Regions from separate parts of the Homo sapiens genome. Here all the other regions are linked to region 1. The links are contacts of gene promoters, found by promoter capture Hi-C in blood cells and fetal thymus (Javierre and others, 2016). All regions are on one chromosome and are shown on one strand. Each heading gives the region's core, a stretch centred on a gene start or on the middle of the fragment in contact. The rest is flanking DNA. Distances are from core to core; before and after follow the strand shown.

Evidence for each region. Contacts are between HindIII fragments. The CHiCAGO score rates a contact against its expected background, and 5 or more counts as called.
Region 2: a fragment that was not itself captured here is called in contact with the fragment with the promoter of LINC01949 in region 1 in 3 of 17 cell types (M2 macrophages, M1 macrophages and M0 macrophages); the score reaches 8.3 in M2 macrophages.
Region 3: a contact is called between a fragment that was not itself captured here and the fragment with the promoter of LINC01949 in region 1, in 6 of 17 cell types (M0 macrophages, M2 macrophages, M1 macrophages and 3 more). The highest score is 9.5, in M0 macrophages.
Region 4: a contact is called between a fragment that was not itself captured here and the fragment with the promoter of LINC01949 in region 1, in 2 of 17 cell types (neutrophils and activated CD4 T cells). The highest score is 5.3, in neutrophils.
Region 5: a contact is called between a fragment that was not itself captured here and the fragment with the promoter of LINC01949 in region 1, in 3 of 17 cell types (M0 macrophages, activated CD4 T cells and M1 macrophages). The highest score is 6.7, in M0 macrophages.
Region 6: a contact is called between a fragment that was not itself captured here and the fragment with the promoter of LINC01949 in region 1, in 11 of 17 cell types (M0 macrophages, M1 macrophages, M2 macrophages and 8 more). The highest score is 27.6, in M0 macrophages.
Region 7: a fragment that was not itself captured here is called in contact with the fragment with the promoter of LINC01949 in region 1 in 3 of 17 cell types (M0 macrophages, M1 macrophages and M2 macrophages); the score reaches 10.7 in M0 macrophages.

Annotation. Positions count from the first base shown.
Region 1 is chr5:87,237,677-87,241,224 of GRCh38, forward strand. LINC01949 (long intergenic non-protein coding RNA 1949) reads right to left here and starts at 1,525. Exons shown (of 3, transcript NR_130914.1): 1 at 1,390-1,525; 2 at 1,139-1,305. All of the region lies in intron 2 of LOC101929380 (a long non-coding RNA gene), which reads left to right. The HindIII fragment of the contact is 4,009 bases long and covers 1,283-3,548 here.
Region 2 is chr5:87,047,019-87,050,745 of GRCh38, forward strand. MIR4280HG (MIR4280 host gene) reads right to left here. Exons shown (of 2, transcript NR_186582.1): 2 at 1,888-3,727. It overlaps LOC645261 (PP565), which reads right to left. Exons shown (of 3, transcript NR_188227.1): 3 at 1,888-3,727. Among named protein-coding and RNA genes, the nearest start is that of MIR4280, 66 kb to the right of the region's middle. The HindIII fragment of the contact is 5,407 bases long and covers 1-3,727 here.
Region 3 is chr5:86,993,509-86,997,158 of GRCh38, forward strand. No RefSeq gene overlaps it. Among named protein-coding and RNA genes, the nearest start is that of MIR4280, 120 kb to the right of the region's middle. The HindIII fragment of the contact is 6,669 bases long and covers 1-3,650 here.
Region 4 is chr5:87,430,491-87,434,303 of GRCh38, forward strand. All of the region lies in intron 1 of LOC105379066 (a long non-coding RNA gene), which reads left to right. Among named protein-coding and RNA genes, the nearest start is that of CCNH, 19 kb to the left of the region's middle. The HindIII fragment of the contact is 6,327 bases long and covers 1-3,813 here.
Region 5 is chr5:87,387,677-87,391,517 of GRCh38, forward strand. It overlaps RASA1 (RAS p21 protein activator 1), which reads left to right. Exons shown (of 25, transcript NM_002890.3): 24 at 1,717-1,851; 25 at 3,124-3,841. The coding sequence ends at 3,207. It also overlaps a transcript of CCNH not described here. Among named protein-coding and RNA genes, the nearest start is that of CCNH, 23 kb to the right of the region's middle. The HindIII fragment of the contact is 2,768 bases long and covers 369-3,136 here.
Region 6 is chr5:87,065,144-87,068,781 of GRCh38, forward strand. All of the region lies in intron 1 of MIR4280HG (MIR4280 host gene), which reads right to left. It overlaps LOC105379065 (a long non-coding RNA gene), which reads right to left. Exons shown (of 3, transcript XR_948540.3): 3 at 1,358-1,637. Among named protein-coding and RNA genes, the nearest start is that of MIR4280, 48 kb to the right of the region's middle. The HindIII fragment of the contact is 2,066 bases long and covers 541-2,606 here.
Region 7 is chr5:87,030,363-87,033,886 of GRCh38, forward strand. No RefSeq gene overlaps it. Among named protein-coding and RNA genes, the nearest start is that of MIR4280, 83 kb to the right of the region's middle. The HindIII fragment of the contact is 3,962 bases long and covers 1-3,412 here.

The DNA of each region.
Region 1 (3,548 bases), core at 275-2,774:
TTATAAAAAAAATGCATTTTGTCGTTTATGCCATTGCATCTAGCTTAAGAAAGCTTTCCTTACTGGAAGTCATAAATTCTCCTATCTTTTTCTAAAAGTCTTAAAGTTTTGCTCTTTGTATTTAAGTTTCTTTCATCTGAAGTATATTCCATGTAAATAGAGTGAGGCAGAGATCTTTCTGACTTTTTCCCATGTGACTAACCAATTATCCCGGCATTATTTGTTATTTTTTTATTTTACTCCTGAATTTTAATGTCACACTTGTCATACACCAAGTTATCAAATATGTGAATCTGTTCTGAGTTTTGTTTTGTTGGTCTATTAATTTTATTTCTGACACAATAATACAGTTGTATAATTACAACATTAGAATATCAATATCTGGTAAAGTAATATCAGTGAAACTGATTTATGAATTGCATGTAAAAATTTTAAGGCCACCATGTCAATGTAATTAGCACTGGCCTACAGATAACCTATTGATTTGACCACTTTGCTCTTGTATGTAGAAACTTTGCTTAACTCTCCTATTCCAGTTCTTCAGCTGTACAATTATTGGATTTTCTATAAAAAAAAATATTCAAATAATCAATATTTGATCTTCCCTAATCCATATAACTGGTTATTTCTTTCTTATTTCATTGGTTAGGAACTCCAGAGCAATGATGATTATTGGTGGAGATAATAAGTATTAATGCTTGTTCCTAATGTTAATGGGAATTTTATAACTCTCATACATTATTTCTAGGATAAATCATATTTGATCATAATGCATTTTTTAAAATGCTTGATTCAATTTGTCAACATCTTATGATACTTGCATGTACTCATAAGGAAGATTAACCTATAATTTTTCTTTCTCTTATTTTTCTAGTTCAGCTAACTAGAATATATTAACTTCATGAGAGAAACTACAGAATTTTCCTCTTTTTCTGTATTTTGTAGCATTTTGTGCTAAAGAGATTTTTCTGTGCTTTGAATGTTTGTTGGTAATCCCTGTGTAAAATTTTCTAGACTTACTGTTATTTATTTTGGGTAGGTTTTTGCTTACTAATTCAATTTTTCCAAAGGCTTTCTCCTCAGACATAGATTTACTCTTGAGTCAATTTTGGTAATTTAAATTTTTAGTGATGCCCACCTGCAAAGGGCCAGGTCTGGCATACAGTTTGAAATTTGCTGCCAGAGTCCCATTTTGCAATCCCGAACTTCTGGTGGAGACTGGGGTGTCCATGGCCCACTACCCAGTGGCGAGTAAACTCTTTGCTCCCAGACTGTTGCAAGAAGCTTAAAGGATGGCCTCCAGATCTGGAACAATTATGTTCTCATATTAATAAAAAGATTAACAATATTTTTAAAAATCTGTCATTGAGAAACTGGCCAAGAACCTACCTTGAAGAATATCTTAATAGGAGATGAGATCACTGTAAGAAATGAACTTCTAAATAAATTTGAATAGGAAATTCAGTATTAAGAACAAACCAACAATTCACTCAAGGAACTCTGTAAATCTCTTGAAGAATATTATAAAATGTGGAATATCTCAAAGAAAACTTTCCTTCCCATGTGCCTCAAATAACAGGTCTCAAACTCCTAGCCTCAATCAGTCCTCCCACCTCAGCCTCCCAAAGTGCTGGGATTACAGGTGTGAGCCACTGTCCCCAGCCATAATTTATTTATATTTTATTTCTTTAGCTTTTTCATCTTCTATCCTGTTTCATATAAAATTCAAACTTTTTTGGATAAATTTTTTAATCAAATGCTTCCGTTTAAGTTAGTTTTAGCATTTATTTTTATAAAATTTTAGCATGTAATTTTAAAATAATTTTTTATATTTTAAGATCATACCTGTCCATGTGACTCCAATTCAGCTGTAAAAGATCTGAGAAATATTTGATCTGTTGTCCAGGAAGAAAAGGAGAGGAGGAACATTCTTCTATCATTTCACTCTTACCTGTATATGAAGAATATACTTACCTCCCCCGAAGGAGGACAATCTGAAGTCCCTTCTAGTTAGTGCATTCAGCTCAAAGCCCAAGACATTCAAGAAATGTGTCATCTTCTCCAATACGTGAATGTTTGAATTCTCCTGAAATAAAATCCCATGAACTGAAGAAATATCCTGTCTTTACCACCACTCCCATATACACCTACATGTGAGGGTGCATGCATGCACATGAACACACACACATCTAATATACAAAATGAATCAAGGACAGAAGTAGCTATAATAGGAATCTGATTAGTAAGGGTAGGAATGGAAGGCAAGCAACAGTAACCAGTGCATATAGATCTTAAACAACAGATCGCCAAACACACTGCAGAATGATAAGAGGGTCTGAAATGTAATACATCAAGTGTTAATGTGCCAGACCTAGAAGTGGCAAATGTCACTTGGACATATTCCACTGGCTAAAACTCAGTTACATAGGCCCAGTAAAATGATAAAAAGCCTATGTAAGTTTTGGTTGTATGCCAAAAAAGAAGAGGACAAAATGGATATTGATGTGCACTAACAGTCTGTGTCATCATGGTGACATGATCCTTCTATCATGAAGTAATCAACCTCTTTAGAGAAAAATCATTATTAGACTTAAAGTTGTTTTCTAATATCAATATTACTGTCAGATCTATTTTGGTCCGGTTCCTGGTGTACAGTTTTTCAACCTATGACAGTAAGTTCTCAACGTTGTTGATAGGGTCTTGGAAACTTCAACTTCAAGTGAGATGCCATGTAACAAAACCAGTTTTACTATAGGCTAATTAATATAAACAAGAATTAGTTCCTATGGCATATTTGTATCACAAAAACATCAACAAATTTCTAAGTGAAGACTTGAAACACTTCTAATGTTGAATATTGATATAAATGTAAGCTATACATACATTTAAGAAAAATCAACAAAAATAAGTAAGCAATTTGTCCAATTTTTGGTGAATCAGTGAGTGACAGCCGTCATCCTGGTGGTAGGTTAAATCAAGAAATAAATGTTTGTAAAGTGAAAATTGTCAGGAGTACCTCCTACCAACACACAGTTCAAAAACAAACAATATTCAATAAGGCAGACTCTCTAAGCACTTTCATACAACATTTCTTATTATTTTGCATTTGTATGATTATCAAATACTTTATATTTTATCTTATAATAATTTGTATTCATTTATTCTTTCATTTTCCAACCCACTTACTCCAGTTCAGGTTACAGGAGGCCAAAGCCCATTCAGCAGTTCAGGATACAAGGTGGGAAGCAACCCTGGCCATGACACCATCCCAACACAGGGCACACTCATACATATACCCACACTCACCTTGACTGAGATCGCTGACACATGCCCACCCACCTGAAATACACATCTTCAGGATGTGGGAAGAAACTGGAGTACCTGGAGAAAATCCACACAGACATGGGGAAAAGGTGCAAATTTCACAAAGACATTAGCCTCAACCATGAATTAATTTTTTTTCCCATCAACATTATAACAAAGTAACATTATCTGAGCACCTGATATAATTTCAGTCTTTTGAGATTATTACTATTATGAGACAAAAT
Region 2 (3,727 bases), core at 861-3,360, 190 kb before region 1:
CAAACATGCTCATCAACAGAGAGAAATAAGTGTCTGAAGAACAGTCCCACAGGAAAATCATTTTTTAAATAAATTTTATCCTTTTATGACAGCCATTTTAGTACCATATATCTTAAAAATTAAAATAATTACTCTGAAAATGCCCTACTGCCCATTAGTTGTGGTGGCGATACTTTAGAACCACTATGAATATCATCAGCAGAAGGCTTGTGCTTCCACAAAACCGAATATCATGCAGATATTAAAAGAGTAAGTCAGCCGGGTGCCTAGATTCCTGTATTCAAGGGCAGGAAGCATCCAGCACAGGAGAAAGATGTAGGCTGGGAAGCTAGGCCAGTCTCACTTTTTCATATTTTTCTGCCTGCTTTATATTCACTGGCAGCTGATTACATTGTGCCCACAAGATTAAGGGTGGGTCTGCCTTCCCCAGCCCACTGACTCAAATGTTAATCTCCTTTGACAACACCCTCACAGACACACCCAGGATCAATACTTTGCATCCTTCAATCCAATCAAGTTGACACTCATACACATCTCATACACATCTCCTGAAATCATACATAATCTTTAAATAAAGAAAATAATAAGGTCATAATTAGGCCTAACATAATACAACTATCTTTAGTACAACCGGAAACACACCAATCCCCCAACTCAAATACTATTATGTAAAGTTAACAATACTTCAATTCTGAAATGAAATCAATAAATCTTATGTCACATGATGAAGTCAAAGGAAATAAAATGAAGATATTTTCTTAGTACAGCTGTATACATCTACAAACATGATTTTAACAAAAGGAGGAAATACTCATGACAGTTACAGTCCTCATTTCTGCAGCTGGTCATGTGGTTCTAGCAGGTATTGATAACTATCTTCTTCTACTACCCATTCTGCATTCCCTTTGCCTTCAGCAAGCACCTCAGCAGGTCATATTTTTTTCCTGGTATAGTGACCCAAACCTTCATTCCTGAGGGGTCTGGACCATTTGTAGTCCTTCCTGGATTGAGTTATTGTAGTTTCCCGTTGACCTTAAACACAGGGCATGGTAATACTAAGAGATGCCCTAATGGATCTCCTGTATTCCATGTATACTCTTCCTTACCTCTGTTTTGGAGCAGTAGACTGATTTCATCTTGATGATCTGGGTCAGTCACCCCAGCCAACAGTGTAACTCCCTTTTTAGCCTGTTGACTTAAAGGTAGGAGGATCCCAAAGTGTCCAGGTGGCAATCTTTAACTACCAGTTTAATGGAATCATTGTTTTGTCTCCTGGTGGCACTATTCCTCCATCTGGAACTAAGACCTATAGGCCAGCAGAATGTAATGTCACAGGAACATGAAACAAAAATTTTGCTATTGGAACACTAGGGGTGATGGTGAGTGGTGCCACTTCCACTTGCAGCCCTTGATTCCTGGACCCATGAATCCTGTCTATGGGAGAAACAGTACCATATACTGGACACTAATTCAGAGCATACACGGCCTTCTGGAGAACTTTGCCCCAGCCCTGCAAAGTAATGTCACTGTACACTGTTGGCACTGTAATTGTGACTTCAAAAGGCCATTCCACTGTTCTGTCAATCTAGCTGTTTCAGGATGATGAGGAACATGGTAAAACCAGTGAATTCCATGAGCATGAGCCCACTGCTGCACTTCTTTAGCTGTAAAGTGAGTGTCTTGGTCAGAGGCAATGCTGTGTGGAATACCATGATAGTGGATAAGTATCGGGGGAACCAGCCCCCAATATTTCAACATAGGTTCTTTTCTATTTTCCCTAAGTGTCAGCTGGTCTGAGAAATAAAGGGAAAGAGTACAAAAGAGAGAAATTTTAAAGCTGAGTGTCCGGGGGAGATGTCACATGTCGGCAGATTCTGTGATGCCCCCTGAGCCACAAAACCAGCAAGTTTTTATTATGGATTTCAAAAGGGGAGGGGTGTACGAATAGGGTGTGGGTCACAGAAATCACATGCTTCAAGGGCAACAAAATATCACAAGGCAAATGGGCAGGGCAAGGTCAGAAGGCCAGGGCAAAATTAGAATTACTGATAAGGTACCCTGTCCCACTGTGCATGCATTGTCATTGATAAACATCTTAACAGGAAACAGGGTTCAAGAGCAGAGAACCAGTCTGACTAGAATTTCGCCAGGCTGGAATTTCCCAATCCTAACAAGCCTGGGGGTGCTGTAGGAGACCAGGGTACATTTCATCCCTTATCTACAACTGCATAAGACAGACACTCCCAGAGCGGCCATTTTAGGGGCCTGTCAGTGGGAGTGCATTCTTTTCCCAGGGCTGTTCCTTGCTGAGAAAAAGAATTCAGTGATATTTCTCTTATTCGCTTTTGCAAGAAGAGAAATATGACTCTGTTCTGCCCCGCCCCGCCCCGCAGGCAGTCAGACTTTATGGTTATTTCCCTTGTTCCCTGAAAATCACTGTTATCCTGTTCTTTTAGGATGCCCAGATTTCATATTGTTCAAACACGCATGTTTTACAAACAACTTATACAGATAACATAATCATCACAGGGTCCTGAGGTGACATACATCCTTACTTTACAAAGATGATGGGATTAAGAGATTAAAGTAAAGACAGGCATAGGAAATTATAAGAGTATTGATTGAGAAGTCAGAAATGTCCATGAAATCTTCACAATTTATGTTCAGAGACTGCAGTAAAGACAGGCATAAGAAATTATAAAAGTATTAATTTAGGGAATTAATAAATGTCCATGAAATCTTCACAATTTATGTTCTTCTGCTGTGGCTTCACCCAGTCCCTCTATTCAGGGTCCCTGACTTCCCACAACAGATAATGCATTCCATGAATCCATGGATGGAGTCTTGGCAGAAACATTGCATGCAGGATAGGCAAACCCATATCCAGAGTAAGTGTCTGTTCCAGTGAGGACAAACCTCTGCCCTTGCTATGATGGAAGAGATCCAATATAATCAACCTGCCACCAGGTAGCTGGCTGATCACTCTGAGGAATGGCGCCATATCGAGGGTTCAGTGTTGGTATCCGCTGCTGGCAAATTGGGCACTCAGCAGTGGCGGTAGCCAGGTCAGCCTTGGTGAGTGGAAGTCCATGTTGCTGAGCCCATGTGTAACCTCCATCCTTGCCACCATGACCACATAGTTCATGGGTCCACTGGGGAATAAGAGAGGTGGCTGGGGAAAGAGGCTGAGTGATGTCCACAGAACAGGTCATCCTATCCACTTGATTATTGAAATCCTCCTCCGCCAAGGTCACCCATTGGTGAGCACTCACATGAGATACAAATATCTTCAGTTTTCAATCACTCAGAAAGGTCCATCCACTTACCTCTTCCCCAAATTTCTTTGTCACCAATTTTCCAATCATACTTCTTCCAAGTCCCTGACCATACAGCCAAACCACTGGCTACAGCCAATGAATCAGTATATAATCGCACATCTGGACATTTCTCCTTCCAGGCAAAGTACACAACCAGGTGCACTGCTCGAAATTCTGCCCACTGGGAAGATTTCCCTTCACTGCTGTCCTTCAGGGATGTCCTAGAAAAGGGTTGTAATGCAGTGGTCTACTTTCAGGTAGTGCCTGCATATCATGCAGAATCATCTGTGAACCAGGCCTTAGTCTTCTCTTCCTCTGTCAACTAATCATAGGGAACTCCCCATGAAGCCACTGGTGCAGGCTAGGGGAGAGGAGGCAGGGTGGCAGGAGTGGAGACCATGGGCATTTGA
Region 3 (3,650 bases), core at 481-2,980, 240 kb before region 1:
TAATGTAATGCCTCCTGCTTTGGTTTTTTTTTTACTTAGGATTGCCTTTGCTATTCAGGCTCTTTTTTGGTTCCATGTGAATTTTAAAATAGTTTTTTCTAGCTCCATGAAGAAGACCATTGGTAGTTTGATAGGAATAGCATTGAATCTGTATGTTGCTTTGGGCAGTATGGCCGTTTTAACAATATTGATTCTTCCTAACCATGAGCATGAGATGTTTTTTATTTGTGTATTCTTTGATTTATTTGAGCAGTGTTTTGTAATTCTTGTTGTAGAGGTCTTTCACCTCTTTGGTTAGCTGTTTCCTAGGTATTCTATTCTTTTTGAAGCTATCGTGAATGGGGTTGAGTTCTTGATTTGGCTCTCAGCTTGGATGTTATTATTGTATAGGAATGCTACTGATTTTTGTACATTGACTTTGTATCCTGAAATTTTGCTGAAGTTGTTTATCAGGTCAAGGAGCTCTTGGGCAGATACTATGGGGTTTTCTAGGTATAGAATCATATCATCTGCAAACAAGGATAGTTTGTCTTCTTCTCTTCCTATCTGGATGCCTTTTATTTTTTTCTTCTGCCTGATTGCTCTGTCTAGGACATCCAGTACTATGTTGAATAGGAGTGGTGAGAGAGGGCATCCTTGTCTTGTTCTGGCTTTAAGGAAAATGCTTCCAGCTTTTTGCCATTCAGTGTGATGTTGGATGTGGATTTGTCATAGATGGCTCTTATTATTTTGAGGTATGTTCCTTCAATGCCTAGTTTGTTGAGGGCCTTTAACATGAAGGGATATTGAATTTTTATTGAAAGCCTTTTCTGCATCTATCAAGATGATCATGTGGTTTTTGTTTTTAGTTCTGTTTATGTGAAAAATCACATTTACTGATTTGCATATGTTGAACCAATCTTGCATCCCAGGGATAAAGCCTAGTTGATTATGATGGATTAACTTTTTGATGAGCTGCTGGAATCAGTTTGCTAGTATTTTGTAGAGATTTTTGCATCTGCGTTCATCAAGGATATTGGCCTGAAGTTTTCTTTTGGTTGTTGTTGTGTCTCTGTCAGGCTTTGGTAACAGGATTACGCTGTCCTCATAGAATGACTTAGGCAGGAGTCCCCCTCCTCAATTTTTTGGAATAGTTTCAGAAGGAATGGTACCAGCTCTTCCTTATACATCTGGTAGTATTTGGCTATGAATCAATCTGGTCCTAGGCTTTTTCTGGTTGGTAGGCTTGTTACTGATTGAATTATAGAACTCATTATTGATTTGTTCAGGGATTTAATCTCTTCTTGGTTCATTCTTGGGATGTTGTATGTATCCAAACATTTATCAGTTTCTTCTAGGTGTTTGAGCTTGTGTGCATAGAGGTGTTCCTAATAGTCTCTAAGGGTTCTTTGTATTTCTGTAGGGTCAGTGGTAATGTCCCCTTTGTCATTTATGATTGTATTTATTTAGATTTCCCTCTTCTTTCTTTATTAGTCTAGCTAGTAGTTTATCTTATTAATTATTTCAAAGAACCATTTCCTGGATTCATTGATCTTTTGTATGGTTTTTCATGTCTCAGTTTCCTTCAGTTCAGCTCTAATTTTGGTTATTTCTTGTCTTCTGCTAGCTGTGGGATTGGTTTGCTTTTGTTTCTGTAGTTCCTCTAATTATGATATTAAGTTGTTAACGTAATATCTTTCTAACTTTTTGATGTGGATGTGTAGTGCTATAAACTTCTCTCTTAACGCTGCTTTGGCTGTGTCCCAGAGATTTTGGAATGTTTTATCTTTGTTCTCATTAGTCTCAAAGAATTTCTTGATTTCTGCCTTAATTTCATTATTTTCCCAGAAGTCATTCAGGAGCAGATTGTTCAGTTTTTATCTAATTGTGTAGTTTTGAGTGAATTTCTTAGCATTGATTTCTGTTAGTTCTTATTAAATAAACCTAGAAGTTAAATTACTTGTTACCAGAGTATTTGTTTATTACAGAGTTATTGGACTAATTTACAGTTCCATCAGCAGCGTATGAGAGACTTCCAGTTTCTCTGTGCCTTTACCAAAATTTCCTTTTTTAATCATTCTAATGAGTGTGAAGTATTATTATACCATATGCTGGATTTAATTCACCTTTCTTTTATAAATTATGAATTTAAGCATCTATTTATAGGTTTCCCCAGCATAGGGATATCCTTATTCATGAAGTCACTTCATATCTTGTCCGTTTTTCAATTAAGTCATCTGTGTTTTTCTTATTGATTTATAGAGGTTCTTATATCTATTCTTTTTATTGATATATAATATTTGTTCATTTTTATGCGCTACATGTGGCATTTTATTAAGTCATAGAACACGTAATGATCAAATTAGAATATTTAGAGTATCCATCACCCCAAGTATTTACAATTTATATGTGTTGGGAATATTTAAAGTTTTCTCTTCTAGCTCTTTTGAAATATACAATACATTGTTGTTAACTACAGTAACTCTACTCTCCTAAGATTGGAGTTTATTCCTTCTGTTTAACTCTACATTCATACCCATTAACCAACCTCTCTTCATCCATCCTACCCACAAACACACACACAACCTGCCTAGCCTCTAGTCTATCAATCTACTCTCTAACTCCATGAGGTCAACTCCTTTAGCTTCCACATATGAGTAAGAACATGTAAAATTTGTCTTTCTGTACCTGGCTTATATCACTTCACATAATGACCTCCAATTCCATCCAGGTTGCTACAAAAATGATTTCATTCTTTTTTATGATTGAATAGTATTTCATTCTATATATATGTCCATTTTCTTTATTCATTCATCCATTGATGGACACAGGTTGATTCCATATCTTTGTTATTGTGACTAGTGCTGCAATAAACATAGGGGTGCAAGTATTGCTTTAATATAATTTATTTCCTTCCCTTTGAATAAATGCCCAGTAGTGGGAATGCTAGATCATATTGTAATTCTATTTTTAGTTTTTTGAGAAATCTCCATACTGTTCTCCATAGTACCTGCACTAATTTACATTCCAACCAGCAGTGTACAGGAGTAGTTTCTCTTTTCTCTGCATCCTCACGAGCACCTGCTATTTTTGTGTTTTTATTAATAGCCATTCTAAAAGGAGTAAGATAGTATCCTATCGTGGTTTGATTCGCATTTTTCTGATGATTAGTGACATTGAGTACTTTTTTAATATAACTGTTAGCCACATATATGCCCTCTTTTGAGAATCTTCTATTTATGTCCTTTGACCAGTTTCTATTGGAATTATTAGTTTTTGTTTGTTTGTTTGTTTGTTTGTTTAGTTGTTTGAGTTCCTTGTATAATCTGGATATTCACCCCTTGTCAGATGAATAATTTGCAAATATTTTCTCCAATCCAATAGGTTGTGTCTCCACTCTGTTGCTTGTTTCCTGTGCTGTGCAGAGGCTTCTTAGTTTAATATAGTCTCATTTTTCTATTTTCGTTTTTGTTGCCTGTGGTTTTGAAGTCTTAGCCATAAAATATTTGCCTACACGAATGTTCTGGATTATTTCCTCTATGTTTCTTCTGGCAGTTTTATAGTTTTGGGTCCTATGTTTAAGTCTTTAAGCTGTCTTGAGTTGATTTTTCTTTATGGTGAGAGATAGGGTTCTGGGTTCATTCTTCTGCATCTAGAAATCCAGTTTTCCC
Region 4 (3,813 bases), core at 916-3,415, 190 kb after region 1:
ATGTGGTTAATTTGATTTTACAATGTGTTATGAAATTCACAGGCCCATGTGAGTTATAGTGATAGGTTGATGGTGATTTAGAATAATGAGTTGAGAAGGGATTCTTTGTAGTATCTGCCAAAAACTGTGAAGGTTCTGAGAGTTTACCCTAATGCAATCTAACAAGTTAGTTTGTTACTATTTCGAGGATACTGGCAAAAAAACAGGAGACTCCTGGGTCAGAGGCAAAGGATTTAATTGCTCACAGTACAGCAAAAAGCATGAGCATCAGCATATTTGCATTGGTTCTCCTTGCCAAGTATCAGAGCTTGATGAAATGGGCTTAGATGATACCTGTACTTGCAGTGAGTTGCATTAAAGTAGGGGTCCCAAGGGTACAGGACTCTCTGAGCAAGCTACAAAATGTTGTAGCAGGTAGCAAATCATTCAGACCCCTCCTGCTACAAACCTGGAGTCTTATTGTGGTCACTTTGACCTACTTAGTGCCTATGTGTCCCTGATCAGTAACAGGGGATGGATAAGGCTAGTAATCTGGCACACAGAGCAAGAACATGCAAGCCTGATCAGGCCCATGGCAGATGACATTTTCTAATAGTATCCAGGTATCATCTTTTCCTGTTCAGGTACAGGAGCCCTCTCTTCTTTATTGTAAAATGTACCATTCCTGGCTAATTTTATATCTCTTACTCAAAGAAAAAGGCATTAACATTGTTATTACTCATAAGGTCATGGCTTGCTGGAACCTGCTTATATTGAAAAATATAGATCTTGCCTCTGCAGTTCCCTAATACCATTTATTTAATTCTGGTTACATGATTGCTCATGACTTTGCATCATCCATAGTGCTTTCCATGATTACTGGCCCCCAAAGACTCTCTTAAATGTTGTTACTATGTTTTATTGATGATGAACAGAAATGTAAACTTACCCAGACTATGCAGAAACATGTGAACAACAATTCATTCTCCATTCATGTTAAATTTCTCGTTTTGAATTTTAATGCATAAGCATAGAACAACATGACTTCCAACTATATTTTCTCTTGAACTCCTTAGGCTATAATCACTGCACACATAAAACATGATCTTCTTAAAAGTTGACTCTCTCTTCCTTCTATACACTGCCACCAGAGGAGAGAACAGATGAGGAGTTTGAGGGGAAGGGGAATGGGATAGGGAAAGAATGGTCCAATTTGTGTAAGGAAGTCCATCTTACAAAAGCATGGCATTACCACAGTGATCAATAGCCAGAGTAGATATAGATCCAAAGGCCTTAGAGTAGATAATATGACCAAATCCCAGAGAACTGCCAGACATGGGGCATGGAACCTAAAGAAGGGGTAGGTATCTGCCACAGGGATGGCCAAGGGTACATAGGGTAAAGAATACTCTTCAGTGCTGGATCAAAGGTGGTACTGTGGTCACAACAGAGGTGAGTGTGAGCCCATGTTCTAGACCACACACTCAGATCAAGCTCAAGTTTTAGCAGTAGATTCTTTGTAGCTCTGAGTCCTGAACTTGTCTTACATCGATAAGAGAGTCGGCCAACATCTGCTGCTTGTTGGTTCCATTCTGAAAACTCAGTCTTGTGTGGTCCCACAAAAAGAAATTCTGTGCTGACATTGGGAGTTACCACTCTTCAGTCTGCTCTCTTGGATTAGAGGTCAGGCAGGGGTCTCAGGACAATCCCATCCGCATGAGCCCTAGGGTTCCATGGGCATTTGGTAGAACCCAGGTCCTGGAAAGTTGGTTGGAGAAATACCTTAGTGGAGAAATGGAGAATGAAGACCTTGTGTTTTATGATCTGAGCTTGGAGAACCCTGATTGGATGGCACTGCTGGTCTAGCCACTACCAGGCATAGAGGAAGCTACAGAAAATGTAGAGAAAAACACTCCAAAGTGTGAGATCCTTCTAGAACTGGAAATATGCAGGCCTATGTACTATAGTCTGAATGCTTTTGTCCTCTGAAAATTCAAAGATGGAAACCTAATCTCCAACGTGATGGTATCAGGAGGTGGGGCCCTTTGGGAGGCAATTAGGTCATGAGGGCTCCTCAGCATCCAGATAAAAGGTTACTGTCCTTATAAAAGAGACACTATGAGGCTTGTTCCTTCCCTCTTCCACCACATGAAGACACAGCTAGAAGATGTCATCTATGAGGGAAGGGGCCCTCATCAGACACTGAATCTGCTGATGCCTTGATCTTGAACTGTTCACCTTACAGAACGGTGAGTAATAAGTTTCTGTTGTTCATAACATACCCTGTATATGGTATTTTGTTATAGCAGTTTAAATGGACTAAGACATTGTGCCTATCCAACATCTGACACCACCATTTTAATATTTTAATTCCTACTTTTTATGTTTTTAAACTTTTAGACTTGAAAATCAATTTCATTTGTTTATTCTTTGCTCTCTTTCCTCTTTCAAAATATTGCACCACTCAGAATTTAATATTAATTGAAAATGTTTTTTTTAAATGTCAATAATTCCCGAAGATACTATATTTAACCTGGGAAAATAAAAGACATTCTATGTCTTTGGGATGAGAATTGAATCACACCAGAAACTACACTCAATAAATAGTGCTTCAATGTTTCCCACACTGCTGTTTAAATATGTATACTTAATAGTTCTATTTTCTAATTTTATATGGATGACTCAACAAATCTGTAGTTGCTAATTAAAATAATTCTGTAGTTAAGTAAAATTTGCATATAATAGATGTATTATCCTATCAAAGTATTAGACAAACTTTTGTTTTTATAGAAGTTTGTTGTGATCATCCCCATTATTTTATTTACTCCTCACAATAAGCTAATAGGTAGATACAGGCCATGTAAATAGCTGGCTTTAATAGATGAGGAAACTAAGGTGAGGGACTTAAGGTCGTCAAAGGTTATATATTTGATGTCACAGTCATGAACAGAACTGGGCTTGCTGGACTCATCTGATGCTCTTGTGCTTCCAGCAACTACCATGTTCTTTCCCCAGGCATACCTATCATGATTAAGATAATGTTTATTCTGAGTCTTTTTGATGTTTATCATGTCAAAAAAGATAACATGTCATTTTTCTTTCTTTCTTGATGCCTATGTTGCTTCAAGGGAATATAGTTTTAATATTCAATAGTGAATATTAAATACATCTCTTACACATGATATATGACAAGAAATCTATATTCTGCATTCAGCGTTGTACTGTTACCCAACATTATGATATATGTGTCAATGCAGAGAACACAACGGATTGGATCCTCCTGCCAGTCACCTTTTAACTACCTAAATTTCACAGCTTCTCAGGGATGCAGGCAGAAGAATCTTGCTGCTTGTTAGCTTTGATGCCCCCATGTCCCTTTCTTAATTCCGAATAAAGAACAAAAAGATTAGTATCCTTATGTGGTTGGTAACTGATAAGCAGAACAGTTTTCCCCATTTTCAAAAGAAGTGATGCTGTCATAACCTGCTCCTAGGGTTCCAACAGGACTTCCTGTCATTCTACAAGATTCCAGGGATAGGTTCATAATGATTGCTTAGGTGTGCAGGCTGACATTATAAAGCTAGGGGATAGTGCAGTGTAGTGGGGAACAGCAAGAGTTCTGGAGTTAGACGAAACTAGGCAGACTCTTACTTTGCTGTTTACTGCTTGTGTGATGTGGTCAAGTCTTGTACCTACATTGAGTTCATTTGGACCTACATCAACATGTTTGTTTTTTTTTAAACTAGAATTTCCCAAATGAAAATCATTTAGTATTCTTGAAATGACTTGAAACTGGTTTCTCTGACAGTAGACTCTTATCATCAAAATCTCTAA
Region 5 (3,841 bases), core at 503-3,002, 150 kb after region 1:
AGACCACCACAATTTGTGGCAAACAAATCAGGAATGCCGTTGAGTCACTAGTTTGCAACCTCAGGTATAAAAACTAGTGTATGAAAAATTATGGCATAGCTCCATATTTATAGTGAAATTTATAGTGAAATGGACAAAAATGCTAAAAGTCCATCATGCTTCTATATGTGAACTGGGATATAGTTGGTCAATCATTGGAAAATATTTTTACTATAATGTTTAAGGAACTGTGTGAGAAGTTATGCCACACAATCTAAGATTTCATACTGCTTAGAATCCAAATATAATACTACCATATTTCTTCACCACCTGTATAATAAGCCAAATTTATTTTTGAAGACCCACCTCAATTATTATCTCCTTCAGGAAGCTTTTGCTGAACCCCAAACATGAATAAAATAACTTTTGTTTTACCTCCTAAGCATCCCCTGTGTATCTGTGATATATAATTCTGTGTTGCTATGATTACTTTATTCTAAAGTCCTTTCTACTGGAGTCAGTTCTCTGAAGGCAAATATGGAGTCTTTCATCGCTATAAACCTTTAATCACTGAATGTATTCTGAGTAACTGTGTTTCTCTGTCCCATAGATAACATTGTTTTGCAGTTTTTAGCAATGTAAAGCAAATACTGTCACCATTTTACTGGTAATCCAAGCCCTTGTTAAATGTTATTCCAAGGCTTAAAATAACACTGGCATTTAGTGTCGATAATAAAGTACAGGTTGAGTATCCCTAATCTGAAATCTGAAATGCTAAAAAATCCAAAACTTGTTGAGCACCAACAGGAAATGCTATTTGGAAAATCTCCAATTTTGGATTTTTGGATTGGGGATGCTCAACTGGCAAGTATACTGCAAATATTCCAAAATCCGAAACACTTCTGGTCTCAAGCATTTTGGGTGATATTCAACCTATACTATAAACTTTCATTATAGTGACTAAGTTACTTTATGAACCTTATCTGAAAGTACCATAATTAACACTGATTATTCCCACACATTAGCAAGTATTCTGAGCATAGTCCACAGATAATTGCAAACCTGACAGGTTCTCATTGCATTTTCATAGTGCAGTTCCTACTTATATGCATTATCAACTTAGACAAACTACAGGAGCTTAATAATGAAATTTCATCTAGGAATTTTAAGTTTAGGCTGCATTTAATCCAGATTAGCAGTTAACCTACACTATTTGGCATATGTTCTAGATTTTTTCAGATACAAAGCTAATTGTTAGGAAGCCACACCCCCCACCCCTTATTTTTAGAATAGCAATAATATTGTACACATCTGTCATGCTACGGAAAAAAATGGAATCTGGCTTTCATGTGAATACAAAGGTTACAAAGTCTATATTTTACCATCATTAATACTGAATATTATATTTCAATAAGAATCTTTAGAATTTTAAGAGAAATTTGAGTATTAAAAAAATTATCTAATATACCCAATTAGAATCTTTTCACATGAGACTACAGAGAAAGATTTGTATTTGTAACAAAAAATTAGCTGGGCATGGTGGCAGGTGCCTGTAATCCCAGCTACTTGGGAGGCTGAGGCAGGAGAATCGCTTGAACCCGGGAGGCGGAGGTTGCAGTGAGCCGAGATCATGCCATTGCATTTCAGCCTGGGCAACAAGAGCGAAACTCTGTCTCAAAAAAAACAAAAAAAAAGAAGATTTGTATTTCTAAATGCAATTTTACGATTCCCTTAAAGAATGTACCTGAACTTCCGGACACTACAGAGCATTCTAGAACGGACCTGTCCCGTGATTTAGCAGCATTGCATGAGATTTGCGTGGCTCATTCAGATGAACTTCGAACGCTCAGTAATGAGCGTGGTGCACAGCAGGTAGGCTTTCGCCAGCCTTCATTAACAATGATGTTTCAAAGATAACACTTAGAGAGTTAATAAATAGCTGAATTCTGGTTAACATTTTTATCTTGTTACATTAAATTTTTGAGACTCTGCATCATATTACAAAAGATCTCAGCAGACAGAAATAACGGGCCCCGACTAAAATGATGTACATTTAATACTGAAAAACATCAGGTTTTGCTCTTGAGTCTGAATGTTAATTCTACTGGAAAACAGTGTAATAACACTTTGGTAGCATGTGTGAAAATGGCTAGTTAGTAAGTCAATATTGATTTTATTTTTTTTTCTTTCAGTTTCTGTCTTGTCTTTTCTCTGTCACATACAGATATAGTGCATGGCCAAAGTGATTCTCAAACTGTGAAACAAATGATTATTATTTGGGATGTTTGTCAAATTTCACATCCAGAGGTTCTGAAGTGTGGCCTTGAAAGCTGCACGTCTAACAAACTCTTAGAGGAATTTATAGGTATTCCGATGCAAGTGAACCATGGCCTACACTTTGAGAAACAGTAGACTACATTGATAGACTTCTATCTGCCATCTGCACCAAACAGATACAGATAAGGATGTATTCAAAGACCAGACCAGAATTTGAAGGGACTTAATACCAGGTCAATTAAGATATTGGAGATATAGAACAAAATGAGTTACACTTTGAATGTCCTCAGCTGACATAAGGGCTACTGAGAGGAAGTGACCACAGGGACAGTTTTGACTAGTTTCTAATGTAGTTTCAGGAGATAGTGAATGCTGTCACCGCACTGGCTAACCATTTGGCAGGGATTTTGTAGAAGGGATTAAAGCATTGAGTTTGGTGACTGAGTTCTCTACAACCTGAGATTCTAGAATCCTCAAGTCCTGTTTCTCCCCGCCCCTCCCCCCGCAGCTTTCAAAACTAATAATATGACTTGACTTGCCTTAGATATTAAATAAAAAAAGCCTTTTTTAAAAGAGAGATAAACTGCTTCTGACAACATGTGATAGTGTGATAGTTCTGGCCTAAAAAATAGGAGCATGCCAAACACAAACAAATTTCTGTTCACTTTAGGGTATAAAAATTCTCTTAGTTATGACCAGAAATACTCAGCCAATGACTGAATAATAGAGACTTATGTTTTGAGGGGAATTGTGGTAATATTTTATGCATCCTTTTGCTTTGATACAGTTTTTTTCAAATCCAGGTTCCCATCCTGAAATTGCTGACCGAGCTTTCATTTATTTTCATACCATTTTTCCTCTGTCTAGCACGTATTGAAAAAGCTTCTGGCTATAACAGAACTGCTTCAACAAAAACAAAACCAGTATACAAAAACCAATGATGTCAGGTAGCAGCCTTCGCCCCAGTGTTCTGCATGGATTCAGCATGTCCAACATGGTAATTCACTTCAGTTTAATGTCTCCTTTGCTCTTGCCAAAAAATAGCACACTTTTCCACATTCCAGTGATGTGTGAGCTATGCAAACAAAATCCAAGATTCTGCTGGTGAATAACTATGCCAGCAACCTTGTAAGCTATCTGTGCAGGATATTTGCACTATTTCCACATGGAATCAATCTTTAACAACCTCTGAGCCTTGGTGTACAGACCACCTTTCACAAAACGAAATGCTATGACTGTATCTTGATATCTCGAACTTTCAAAATATATTTTCAGTACACCCAGTTGCCAAAGTTTTGCTGTCTCTTAGAGAAAGAACTATGAAATCAACTGACAAGAAACACATTCTTATTGACAATTGTGTATAACTGGATTGCAGACTGTTCTTACTGTAACTACTTCCTGATTAGGAATATGACCATTTGACTGTTCAATGATTATTTGTATTTACAGTTTCCAGAGTTTGTCATTATAATAGGAACAATCTTTGCTGTATACTTTTAAAAAATACTCTGCTATTTCTCTTGCTGGAACTGTTGAAAGAAAATATATAGAATGATCTATTGCTCATCAGCTTTATTTTTTA
Region 6 (3,638 bases), core at 324-2,823, 170 kb before region 1:
CTGGGCATAGTGTTGGGCACCTGTAATCTCAGCTACTAGGGAAGCTGAGGCAGGAAAATTGCTTGAACCCAGGAGGTGGAGGTTGCAGTGAGCCGAGATAGTGCCACCGCACTCCAGCCTGGGCGACAGAGCAAGAATCTGTCTCAAAAATAAATAGATGGATTATAGATAGATAGATAGATAGATAGATAGATAGATAGATAGATAGATAGACAACTCTTCATTTCACTCAAACTCTTAGAGGCCATTGTGGCATTATTAATTGGCCTAATTTAATATTGTTGTGTCTCAGGGAATAGGGAGGCCTGAGGAGAGAGAGAGAGATGGGAAACAGCTGATTAGTGGAACTATCAGAACATGCACGTTTATAGATTCGTTTGATAAAGAACTTTTATAGATTAAGTTCTATAGAGAACATTTATAGATTAAGTTCTGTTAAGGTGGGTCCAGTTCATGGTGTCCCAAAACATTTGAAATATAATAGTAATATCAAAGATTACTGATCACAGATCACCATAACAGATATACAAATAATGAAAAAGCTTGAAATGTGCAAATTACTAAAATGTCACCCAGACAATAAGTGAGCACATACTGTTGGAAAAATGATGCTTATAGACTTGCTTGATGCAGGGTTGCCACAAACCTTCAATCTGGAAAAAAATGCAATATCTGCAAAACACAGTAAAGCAAAGCACAATAAAATGAGGCATGCCTGTACAAAATCAATACAAGGCAATATAAAGAAAAAATATCAAAAACAAAAAGAACACAGAAGAAAAATGTGACTAAGGAGAAAAAAAAATCAAATAATAATACATTCATTAAATCATATTGTGAAGCTGTAATAATTAAAACAGGAGGTAGTGACACGAGTAGACAGATAGATGAACAGATTAGTAAATTCAGAAGCTGACCCAAAGACATATGTGAATTTAGTATATGGCAAAGATGTCATCTCAAGTCAGCATGAAAAAGAGGTACTGTTTAATAAATGGTGTTAAAGCAGCTAGGAAAACATCCAAAAAATGTTTACATCAAATCCATACTTCACACCATATACCAAGATAAATTTCAAATAGAGCAAAAGTTTCAATTCTTACCAAACACTGCTAGAAACAAAACTTAATAATGTGTACATACTTCCATCATTGGCCATCTATGAGGATATTTGATGCCCCAGCAATTGATAATTTCAACACTTTTAATAATTGCAAATCAAATGAGTAGAAATATGACACCTTGTTTTACATTTGCTATTCTCTGGTTACTGCAGTTTAAATATATTTTAATGTGTTTATTGACCATTTGAATTCCCTCTTTTGTGAATTTGCCTGTTTGAATCTTTGTCTGCTTTTTTATTTTGTTTTATTTGGTTGTTTGTCTTTTTCATATTGATTATTTTAGGATTCCTTTTTACTTTCTAGAAAGCAGTCCAAGTTTGCTTTGTGTGAGGCAATTAGTTTCTTCTATATCATTACTTATCTTTTAATTGTATATATGGTATATTCTGATGTGCACCTGTTTTTAATTTTGATGGAGTCAAGTTGTCATTCTTTTCCTTTGTGATTTTTCTTTTTTGTGTCTTGTCGAGGAGGACTTCCTGACCTCAAGGTCAGAAAGATGTTCTATATTGTCTACAAAGAAGGAGAAGAAAACAGAGAGGAGAAAGAGAAAGGAAAAGAAAATATTTAATTTTTATAGTATATATTTGATTCCTATAGTATAGCAAAGCACATAAGAAAAATAAAAGGCAAATGACAAACTAAGGATAATATCTGTAATGTATATCACAGGCCAATCTTTTTTTTTTTTTTTTTTTTTTTTTGAGACAGAGTTTCCCTCTTGTTGCCCAGGCTGGTGCGATGTTAGCTCACTGTAGCTGTTCAAGCCATTCTCCTGTCTCAACCTCCTAAGTAGCTGGGATTATAGGCGCTACCACACCTGGCTGATTTCTGTATTTTTAGTAGAGACAGGATTTCACCATGTTGGCCAGGCTGATCTCGAACTCCTGACCTTAGGTCATCCACCAGCCTCAGCCTCCCAAAGGGCTGGGATTACAGGCGTGAGCCACCTTTCCCAGCCCCAATCTTTATAATATAAAAACAATACTGGAAAGCCACAAGAATATATAGCAACACAAAAGACAACTGTCAAAATACATTATCAGTTGATAATGATAGAACTGTTGATAGAAAATGAAATACAAAAAACTTTAATTGGATAATAGAAGAAATACTAATTTAGAATAAGCTATGTTTCACCTAACAGATTAACAAAAACCCTTAAATTTTGACAACAGCCCATTGACAAGGCAATGGAAAAACAGATACTTTCAGTTATTGCTGATGAGAATATAAATTGGCACGAGGCCTATGGAAGGCAATTTGAAAACTTTTTCTAAATTACAAATATATACAACTGTTTATTCAGCAGTTCTATTTCTGACAATGTATATTAAACTTACATATATGAAAATAAACAATATGCATTGCAGCACTGTGAGAGCAAAAAACTGGACTATTTTAAATTATCAACAGGGATCCGATTAGAAAAATTATATCTGTACAACAGCATCCGACGCTGCTGTAAAAAAAGAAAGAGGAAGCTTTCCATATACTGATACATAAAGATCTGTGAAATGCATTGTATGTTTTTTGTTTGGGGTTTTTTAATGAAAATTAAGATGTACAATGTGGTGTTTTGATATACATACTGAGCTGATTACTACAGTCAAGCTAATTAATATATCCATCTTTTAGTATAGTTGTCTTTTCTCTGTGTGTGGGAGAGTGGTAAGAACACTTAAGATCTACTCTGTTAGCAAATTTCAAGTGTACAATACAGTATTAACTATTATGTTGTGCACTGCAGCATTATTCACGATTACCAAGATATGAATAAATTATTATACACACACACACGTGGAATATTATTCAGCCTTAAAAAAGAAGGATAGCCTGCCATTTGCAACAACGTGGATGAACCTGTGGAATATTACGCTAAGTGAAATAAGCCCACACAAAAAAATGCTGCATGATCTCACTTATAGGTGGAATCTTAAAAAGTTGAATTTATAGAAACAGAGAGTTGAATGGTGGTTACCAGGGATGGAGAAGTGGGGGGAATGGGGAGGCCCTTGTCAAGGGGCACAAAGTTCCAGTTGTATAGGATGAATAAATTCTAAAGGCCTACTATACAGCATGATGGCTCTAGTTAATAATAATATTGTATATGGGACCTGTATTGTTAATTTAACAAAGCAACTTGTGGAACAAATGGGTAGGAGACAGAGTTTTGTGCTAGGCAGGGAAAGAATATATCATTTATTGGTTTGTATTTGCCTGAAGAAACTCTTGGAGAACTCAAAATGAGCTAATTACAGTGGTTACCAATGTGTGAAAAAGGGACAGGAGGTAAATGAGGAAAAATATAATGAGGAAAGGGAGGCTTTGCAGACTACACATATTTACATTTTTAAAAATTTTTTAGGCCGGGTGTGGTGGCTCACACCTGTAATCCCAGCACTTTGGGAGGCCGAGGCAGGCGGATCATGAGGTCACAAGATCAAGACCATCCTGGCTAACACGGTGAAACTCCATCTCTACTGAAAATACAAAACATTAGCCAGGCGTGGT
Region 7 (3,524 bases), core at 182-2,681, 210 kb before region 1:
CTCCAGGCTGCTGTGCTGGCCAGTGGAGATTCCAAGCCAGTGGGTCTTAGCTTGCAGGGTTCTGTGGGAGTGGGACCCACTAAGTGAGTCTGCTTGGTTCCCTGGCTTCAGCCCCCTTTCCACAGGAGTGGATGGATCTCCTGCCTCACTAGAGTTCCAGGAGCTGCCAAAGTATGCAAAAAATGCAGCTCAATGCCTGCCCCAAGTGGCTGCCTACCCTAGCAGCTGCCATGGATCTCCACAGCTTTGTGCTTGGGGCCCAGGGACCTGGTAGTGTAGGAACATGAGGGAATCTCCTGATCCATGGGTTGAAAAACTCTGTGGGAAAAGCATAGTTCTCCAGGTGGGTAGCACAATCCCTCACTGCGGGAGTGAGGTCCCTTTGCCCCGTGAAGCTCCTGAGTAAACCATCACCCTACCCTGCTTTTTCTTGCACTCTGTGGGTTGCACCAACCACCTAGTCAGTCCCAATGAGAGAATCCCGGTATCTCAGAAAGGCAGAATTCACTCGCTGTTTACGGTCCTCTCCTTGGGAGCTGCAGACAGGAGCTGTTTCTACTTGGCCATATCGGCCCCTCCCCTTCACAGTTGGCTTCTTCTAAGTTGTTTTTGTTTGCTTGTTTGTTTTGCAGCTGTTGTAAAAGGGGGTTGAGTTCTTGATTTTTTTCTCAGCTTGGTTGTTGTTGGTGCATAGCCGTGCTACTGATTTTTTTACATTGATTTTGTATCCTGATACTTTGCTGAATTCATTTATCAGATGTGGGAGCTTTTTCATTGAGTAGAGATTTCTAGGTATACGATCATATCATCACTAAAAAGCAACAGCTTGGCTTCCTTTTTACTGATTTGGATGAACTTTATTTCTTCTTGTCTGATGCTCTGTCTAGGACTTCCAGTACTGTGTTGAATACAAGTGGCAAAAGTGGGTATCCTTGTCTTGTCCCAGTTCTCAGGGCAAATGCTTTCAACATTTCCCCATTCCATATAATATTGGCCATGGGTTTTTCATAGATGGCTTTTATGATCTTGAGCTATGTCCCTTCTATGCCAATTTTGCTGAGGCTTTCAATCATAAAGGGTGCTAGATTTTCTCAAATGCTTTTTGTGCATCTATTGAGATGATCATATGATTTTTGTTTTTAATTATGTTTATCTGATGTATCACATTTATTGTTAATCCTTCCCTGATCCCTGGTATAGAACCCACTTGATCATGGTATATTATCTTTTTAATATGCTGTTGGGTTAAGTTAGCTAGTATTTTCTTGAGGATTTTTGGATCTATATTCATCACGGTATTGGTCTGTAGTTTTCTTTTTTGTTATGTCCTTTCCTGGTTTTGGTATTAACGTGATACTGACTTCATAGAATTATTTAGGGAGGATTGCCTTGTTCTCTATCTTTTGAAGTAGTTTCAGTAAGATTGGTACCGTTTCTTCTTTGAATGTTGGATAGAACTCAGCCATGAATCCATCTGGTCCTGGACATTTTTTGTTGGCAATTTTTAAATTATTGTTTCAGTCATGCTACTTGTTATTGGTCTGTTCAGAGCTTCTATTTCTTCCTGATTTAACCTAGGAGGGTTGTATATTTCCAGAAATTTATCCGTCTCCTCTAGATTCTCTAGTTTTGTGTGTAAAAGTATTTATAGCAACCTTGAATAGTCTTTTGCATTTCTGTGGTATCAGTTGTAGTATCTCCCTTTTCATTTCTAATTGAGTTTTCTTGGATCTTCTCTCTTCTTTTCTTGGTTAATCTCACTATTGGTGTATCAATTTTGCTTATCTTTCCAAAGAAACAGCTTTTTGTTTCATTTGTCTTTTGTATTTGTTTCCATTTCATTTAGTTCTGCTCTGGTCTTTGTTATTTCTTCTATTCTGCTGGGTTTGGGTTTGGTTTGTTCTTATTTCTATAGTTCCCTGAGGTGTGAGCTTGAGGTTAAGATTGTCTGTTTGCACTGTTCCAGACTCCATGATGTGGGCATTTAATGCTATAAACTTTCCTCTTAGCACAGCTTTTGCTGTATCCCAGAGGTTTTGATACATTGTATCACTATTTGTTCAACTCAAAGAATTTTTTAATTTCCACCTTGATTTCATTGTTGACCCAAAGATCATTCAAGAGCAAATTATTTAATTTCCATGTATTTGTATAGTTTTAAGGGTTCCTTTTGGAGTTAATTTCCAGGTTTTTTCCACTATGGTCTGAGAGGATACTTGATATAATTTTGATTTTCTTAAATTTACTGAGACTTGTTTTGTGACCTATCATATGGTTTATCTTGGAGAATGTTCCATGTGCTGAAGAAAAGAATGTATATTCTGCAGTTGTTGGATAGAATGTTCTGTAAATATCTGTTAAGTCCGTATGTTGTAGGGCATAGTTTAAGTCCATTGTTTCTTTGCTGACTTTATGTCTTGATCACCTGTCTAGTGCTGTCAGTAGAGTACTGAAGTCCCCCACTATTACTGTGTTGTCATCTATCTGATTTCCTAGGTCTAGTAGCAATTGTTTTATAAATTTGGGAGTGCCAGTGTTAGGTACATATACATTTAGGATTGTGATATTTTCCTGTTGGACTAATCCTTTTATTATTATATAATGTCCCTCTTTGTCTTTTTTTATTTTTTATTTTTTTTCTGTTGTTGCTTTAAAGTCTGTTTTGTTTGATATAAGAATAAAAGAATAGCTATTCCTGCTTGCTTGGTTTCCATTTGCATGGAATATCTTTTTCTACTCCTATACCTTAAGTTTATGTGAGTGCTTATGTTTTAGGTGAGTCTCTTGAAGACAGCAGATACTTGGTAGGTTGATATTTATCCATTCTGTATCTTTTAAGTGAAGCATTTAGGCCATTTACATTCAACATTAGTATCGAGATGTGAGGTATTGTTCTATTCAATACTAAAGCTGTTGCCTTAATACCTTCTGTTATTTTTTTCATTGTGTTATTGTTTTATAGGCCCTGTGATCTTTATCCTTTAAGGAGGTTCTATTTTGGTATATTTCCAGGGTTTGTTTCAAGATTTAGAACTCGGCTGGGTATGGTGGCTCACATCTGTAATCCAAGCACTTTGGGAGGCCAAGGCGGGTGGATCACTTGAGGTCAGGAGTTCAAGACCAGCCTGACCAACATGGGGAAATCCTGTCTCTACTAAAAATACAAAAACTAGCTGGGCATGGTGCCATGCACCTGTAATCCCAGCTACTCAGGAGGCTGAGGCAGGAGAATCACTTGAACCCAGGAGACGGAGGTTGCAGTGAGCTGAGATCATGCCACTGCACTCCAGCCTGGGTGACAGAGTGAGATTTAGAACTCCTTTTAACATTTCTTGTAGTGCTGGCTTGATAGTGGCAAATTCTCTCAGCATTTGTTTGTTTGAAAAAGATTTTATCTCTCCTTCATTTATGAAGCTTAGTTTTGCCAAATACAAAGTTCTTGGCTGGTAATTGTTTTGTTTCAGGAGAGTAAAGATGGGACCCCAATTCCTTCTGGCTTATAAGGTTTCTCCTGAGAAATCTGC